Linked DNA regions of Homo sapiens: region 1 is linked to region 2. Evidence: promoter capture Hi-C in human tissues and cell types (Jung and others, 2019). All regions are on one chromosome and are shown on one strand. The core of a region is centred on a gene start or on the middle of the fragment in contact, and the rest is flanking DNA. Distances in the headings are between cores, read along the strand shown. Region 1 overlaps PPCDC (phosphopantothenoylcysteine decarboxylase). Region 2 holds the start of C15orf39 (chromosome 15 open reading frame 39).

Region 1 (3,105 bases), core at 401-2,900, 160 kb before region 2:
AACTCTGTCTTCACTGCCAGGGACTTGGTACTCATCTGGTATTGAAATGTTTTGTTGGTGGACCTCTGAATTCCATATCTGAAGGTTTCCTTCCCTACCACATCTCCCTACTGCCAGGGTTATTTGTTTTTTCCAGAAGGACCCTATCAGTAGTCTCCTGCCTGGTTGACCTTGCGTTCTTAGGGTCAAGTAGGGGAAGCAGGCTTGGGTCTCTGTTTGGTCTGTAGATACTCACTTCTGCTCCAGGACTCCTTTGACCTCTGTTGTGCTAACTCTGCAAGGGTAGTATGTTTGGCTGCCTTGGGTGGGAAGAAGACCTGGGGGGACTTTAGCTGTTCCTTCTACAGGTCAGGAAGTCCTCCTGTATTCAGCTATCTGCCTCATGCTCACCTTTGTGGTACTCACTGCCTCAAGTCCTAGGCTCCTGGGCTCTAATTGGCTTGTGTCTCAGTTACTGTGTAGGCTTTGGATATTTTCTTTTCTCATCTAATCTAATCTTATCTTGTAGGATCTGCTCTGCTAGTGCTTCCTTTCGCTTCCATCTTCTGAAAGCGCATTGGCACGTCTTAACTGCTGTTGGTTCCTCTTCTTTTTGTTCTTGAGAATTTACTTCTTTTCTTTCTTTGTTTTTTTTTTTTTGAGATGGAGTTTCACTCTTGTTGCCCAGGCTGGAGTGCAATGGTGCGATCTCAGCTCACTGCAACCTCCACCTCCCAGGTTCAAGCGATTCTCCTGCCTCAGCCTCCCGAGTAGCTGGGATTACAGGCATGCGCCACCACACCCGGCTAATTTTGTATTTTTAGTAGAGATGGGGTTTCTCCTTGTTGGTCAGGCTGATCTCGACCTCCCCACCTCAGGTGATCTGCCCACCTTAGCCTCCCAAAGTGGGATTACAGGCGTGAGACACCATGCCCAGCCGTTCTCTTCTCTTCTATTCCTTGACAAGGTCTCACTTTGTCACCCAGGCTGGAGTGCAGTGGCATGATCTTGGCTCACTGCAGCCTCGACTTCCTGGGCTCAACTGATCCTCCCACCTTGGCCTCCAGAGTAGCTGGGACTATAGGTGTGTGCCACGATGCTGGCTAATTTTTTTGTATTAGAGATGTGGTTTCACCACGTTGCCCAGGCTGGTCTTGAACTCCTGGCCTCAAGCAATCTGCCTGCCTCAGTCTCCCAAAGTGCTGGGATTACAGGCGTGAGCCACTGAGTTTAGATCGTTTTAAAAAAAATTACTTTACTTTTATTTTAATGGGCTTCTGGGAGGGAGCAGAGTTTACCTTATTTAACTAAAAGCTTTTTCTTCTATTTAACCTTTATATGTTCTTTTGCTTTAAATTTATCTTTTTATACAAGATATTGATGGATTAAACAATATCCAAGATAAGAATCTGAATTTTAATACAGAAGATGAGCCTGTTATATATTTACTATAATTATTATTATATTAGGATTTACCTATGCTGTCTTATTTAATGCTTGCTTGCTTTTTATTTTTTTATTTTTTTATTTTTTTTGGAGTTAGGGTCTCACCCTTTCACCCAGGCTGGAGTGCAGTAACTTGATCTCTGCTCACTGCAGCCTCTGCCTTCCCAGGCTCAAGGGCTCCGCCCACTTCAGCTTCCCGAATATAGCTGGGACTACAGGCGCACACCACCATGCCTGGCTAATTTTTGTATTTTTTGTAGAGATGGGGGTCTCACCATGTTGCCCAGGCTGGTGTTGAACTCCTGGGCTCAAGCAGTCTGCCTGTCTCGGCCTTCCAAAGTGCTGGGATTACAGGCATGAGCGTAATCCCATTACTGCTCCCGGCCAAATGCTTTATCATATATTCTCTCTGCTTCTTTTTCTCCTTTCGTATCCTTTATGTGTAGATTGAATTTCCTTCTGTGGGTTTGAAAGGTAAAGGTTATTCTTCTTATGGTTACCATAACTTATTGTGCCCTCTTCTTTACCTCATCACTATCTTGTGTCTTCCCCACGAAAGAGACAGGGCCTTCAGCATGGCCCCGCCCTGCCCTGCTCTCCCAACCTGTGCTGGCCCAGTGGCATCTCCAGGACTGGGTTCCGGGGAGGGATAATGCAGCCCTGCTCATTTGCCATCTTACTCAGAACTGGGCAAGGCTTATTCAGGGCCATCCTAGGGAGACTCCAGCATTCAGTGGGAGTTTGGTTTAAATGACCTCTAGGCTGGGCATGGTGGTTCATGCTTGTAATCCTAGCACTTTGAGAGGCCAAGGTGGGTGGATTGCTTGAGCCTAGGAGTTTGAGATAATTCTGGGCAACATGGTGAAACACTGTCTCTACCGAAAATACAAAAAATTAGCTGGGCATGGTGACATGCACCTGTAGTCCCAGCTACTCAAGAGGCTGAGATGGGAGGATCACCTGAGCCCAGGGCAGTTGAGGCTGCAGTGAGCCATGATCACACAACTGCACTCTATCCTGGGCAATGGAGTAAGACTCTGTAAATAAATAAATAAGTGATGGACCTCTGAAAAGGTCCTTGAGGTTTTTTTGCAGGTTCTGGGCATGGTAGATCCTAAGGGGGAGTGAGATGGAGAATGGACAAGTCAATAGAACTCAGAACGCCAGACTTTCTGAAGTTCTTCCTCAGTCTTCTTCTCTGAGACTTCTACTCCTTGGTCCTAGCTTTGTTCCTAGGCGCTGTGCCGCTGTGTCATCCACCCTGCCCTGTACAATATGCAGGAAGCAAGCGAGGAGGGGGTGCCTCAGAGAGACAGTAAGGAGGAATGAGGACAAGGTGGAATTGGCATGGGCACGTCCTACAGAGTGAGAGGCAGGCCTTAGGGCACCACGTCGCTCTCACGTAGGAATGTGTGTCCAGCAGCGCCTAGCCTTCAGCTTTTCACAAGAACTCAGGAAATTGAATTTTCTATGCGAAATCTTCCAACTTGGACATGTTGGCTCAAAAATGTTAATAATCTTGTGTAGGCCAAACAGCATGTCTATAGGCTGGGTCTGGCCCAGACATGGCCCATGACTATAGCTCTGGCTGGTTGATGGTTCTGTCCTTGTCACCCTTGACTTTTCTTTCTTCTGGATAAATGTCCAGAGAAACAAATGTCCTCTCCTGATTCATTGGTT
Region 2 (3,133 bases), core at 304-2,803:
CTCAGATGGCTGCTCATCCTGGCCTGGTTGGGTCCCATTCCAACTCAGGGAAATTGGAGAGACCACTGGGCACATCTGAGCACACAACCTGAGCGTCCTAGACCCCAAGGGCTAAGAACACAGCCCTCCTTCCACCCCACTAGCAGGGCAGGGACAGGGTCGCCGGCGCGGTGCTGGAGGAGGAGGGGCGAGCAGAGTTGGTAAGGGGCAAGAGCAGTGAATAGCCTGTGACCCACGGGGCTGCAGGCTGGGGTTAAGGGTATGATGTTTGGTGTGACCCCTAGCTGTCCGCGCGCAGATGTATTTTCCTGACGCTAAGGTGTGGCTGCAGGAAGGGCCCCAGGCTGGGAGCCAGGAGATCTGGGATTTTGTCCCAGCCTGCTGAGTGACCTGGGGAAAGCCCCAACCCTCTCTGAGTGTCTCTCCCTATATGGTTCCCGACTCTATTTCTAAGGTCCTTCCAGCTCTAAATGAAGTGACACTCTCCCCCCACCTCCCGCCCCCGCTCCCCAGGTGACCTCACTTCCTCTTCCTACCTGCAGCGCCCAGCCCCTCCTCCTCAGCTCCAGCTGCTCCAGCTGCTTGGTGATTCTTGGAACCTGCAGCCTCAGGCCTGCTCTGCTCTGACTCAGGCAGAACTTACCTTTGGGATCTGAGGGGATAGTTTTGCTTCCTGAACTGACTCTGACCTTTGGCATGTCCACCTGCCCTCCCCTTCCCCACTGCACACACCTGTTCCCAGTCCTCGGGCAGCCCAGGAGCTTTGACGGACCAGATTCCTTCAGATAAAGTAGCAGCACTGAGGGGCTCTCATCCACAGTCAGATGGTCCAGGGAGAGGCACCCCTTCCCCCCTCCAGCCTCTCTTTGCAACACACCATTCCTGGCTGGGCGTGCTCCACTCCACCCGCCTCACAGGCTGCGCGCCGGTCTGCCTCATGGAGGGAGCCTCACCCAGGCTACTTTGCAAATCCCCCAGCACCCTCATTCCCGGCCCTTCCAGGGATGGGGAGATTGCCGCTTCCTCAGACAGTTGCCGTGCCCTAGCAGGAGTCTGGAAATTGCCCTCATTGACTACAACGAAATGAGGGGACAGATCAAGGAGCCCTTCTCCAGCCCCCTAATACACTAGTGCTGGACAGGGGAATGCCGGCACCTACTGTGTGCCAGATATTTGCAAACACCCTTTTCCAAGCTTACACCGCCACCGCTATGAGGAAGACAGAATTCCACTTTTGCAAATAAGGAAACTGAAGCTCAGCGAGGTCAAGCGGCAGGCGCAAGGTCACATCGCAGCAAGTGGCAGTGAATGAACGATCTAAGGGAGCGACTGAGGGCGCGTGACGGGCCCGCCGGGCACTGGTTCGTGGAGCGTGGCGGTTACGGGCGGTGCACAGCGCCCGCAGCCCGCTCCTAGCGAGCTGGCCCCACGCGGGCCCTCCGCACCCGCTGCCCACAGGAGCGCAGGCTCCCAGAGGCGGGGCCGGGCTCTTCCCCAACCCTGCGAGTCGCCCCGCCCCCGCCCCGCCCCCAGCCCGCCCCGCCCGGGACCGCAGACGGCGCCCAGCGGCGGCGCGAACGGCAGCTAGGAGGGTTGCTCCGGGCTTGGTGCTCACTGCGACTTCCCGCGCAGGGCCCGGTCGGACTAGGACCCGCGGCCTGAGAGACGCTGGAGGATGCGGACGCGGAGGCCGCCTGGGGTAGCGGCGGCGGGAGTCCTGGCGCTCTGCAGGTAGGAGCTCGCCCGCTCGGCGGGCGCGGAAACTTGGGCCGAGTTTGCGGGCGGCGCGTGGAGAAGGGGCGGGTGGCGCTGCCCCAGGGCGCCCCTACCGGCCGGCCCGGGGACTGAGGGAGCCGCGCCTGGGCCGAGGGGCTGCGGCTTCTGGCTGCCGCCGGCCCCCCGCGAACGGGCTGCGGGGCAGGGGTGGCGCTGCTGCTCCGACTTTCCCCGGACTTCGAGGCTCCCGGGACCTGGTAGCGCTCTGGGTCTCCGGCGGAGAACAGGCGCCTAATCTGGCGAGAAGGAACTCAGGCCGAGCCCTCCGGCCTCCCGCAGGACCCTGTCACGTGGATTGCTGGGGGATGGCGTTGAGGAGGAGGTATGGGGACAAGGGGGCACTGGAGGGCTGGGCCTGGGGGCGCCGGGCGCTGAGGCACCGCGGGGCCCTGGACGCGCCCTGCTGGGATGGGACGGCCCTGCGGTTTTCTCGCCACCTCTTGACTCACCCCTCTGGCCTCAGCCCAGGCTGGCAGGATCGCCCTGAGGCGGAGGCTGCCCGGACCCTGTCGCCGGGCCGCCCCTGTTCCGGGACCTCCCGCCGGTCCGCGGGCGTCGGTGTGGGGCTGGGTGCGCGGGCCTGCCTGCGTGCACACGTATGCCCGGGGCCCGAGCGAGGGGAGAGCGCAGTTCTGGAATGGCGTGTGTGCAGATGTGGGCCATGCACGTACGTGCAGGCACGGGTTTGCATGCGTGGCGGCGGCCTGTGTGTCAGCCTGCTGGATGCACGTGCGTCTCGGCGCCGCCGGGAGGGGCTTGGGGACACCCGGAAGCCCGCCAGGTCGGGTGCGGCGGCAGCCTCTAAGCGAAATCGGCTGTGGGCCCTAGGCACCCGAGTTATGTTCAGGGCGGGTAGGGGAAAGGGGATAGAGACCGATCCCGTTCGCTTTCCCCTCCACTGGAGACTTTGGGCTGCCCCAGGTTGGGTTGTAGCGTCTGGAGAGCCCAGAGCCTCAGGTAGGGAAGGTGGGAGATGGGAGAACACTCGGCGAGGCCCGATCCAGCCCTCCGGGAGAATCCAGATGCTGGCCACAATTGGGCAGGAATCGCGCTCTTCTTCCTGGTCTTTGCCATCGGCCATCCCGAGGCCCCTAGAAGGTGAAAGTGGGAACAGAGAGCTGTTTCCTTTCCCACTGCGTAAGGCAGGGGCGGTGCTGCGGTGGTGGGCTCTTCTCCGGGACCCTGGCCTGGGTGCTGGCTGAGTGACGTTGGAGCTTGGCAGAGAGGATCAACAGAGCTGCCTCTCAAGGATGATCTGAGCCTGCTCCCTGGGCACCTGCCCTTTCCGAGAGCTTGCTTGCCTCAGTATGGGTCAGGGAAGGAGGCACCTACATTTTGGCAACTGTCTTGAGTGGAG

The links. The method cuts DNA at HindIII sites, captures the fragments that hold promoters and counts their contacts. A contact is called where the count stands out against the background at its distance.
Region 1: a fragment that was not itself captured here is called in contact with the fragment with the promoter of C15orf39 in region 2 in 3 of the 25 tissues and cell types used here (dorsolateral prefrontal cortex, lymphoblastoid cells and spleen).

The regions. Positions count from the first base shown.
Region 1 is chr15:75,039,163-75,042,267 of GRCh38, forward strand. The region is part of intron 2 of PPCDC (phosphopantothenoylcysteine decarboxylase); the gene reads left to right. Among named protein-coding and RNA genes, the nearest start is that of PPCDC, 17 kb to the left of the region's middle. The HindIII fragment of the contact is 3,829 bases long and covers 1-3,105 here.
Region 2 is chr15:75,200,329-75,203,461 of GRCh38, forward strand. It overlaps C15orf39 (chromosome 15 open reading frame 39), which reads left to right and starts at 1,554. Exons shown (of 3, transcript NM_015492.5): 1 at 1,554-1,731. RefSeq lists an enhancer at 1,157-1,879 and silencers at 1,361-2,520, 2,641-2,690. The HindIII fragment of the contact is 11,571 bases long and covers 1-3,133 here.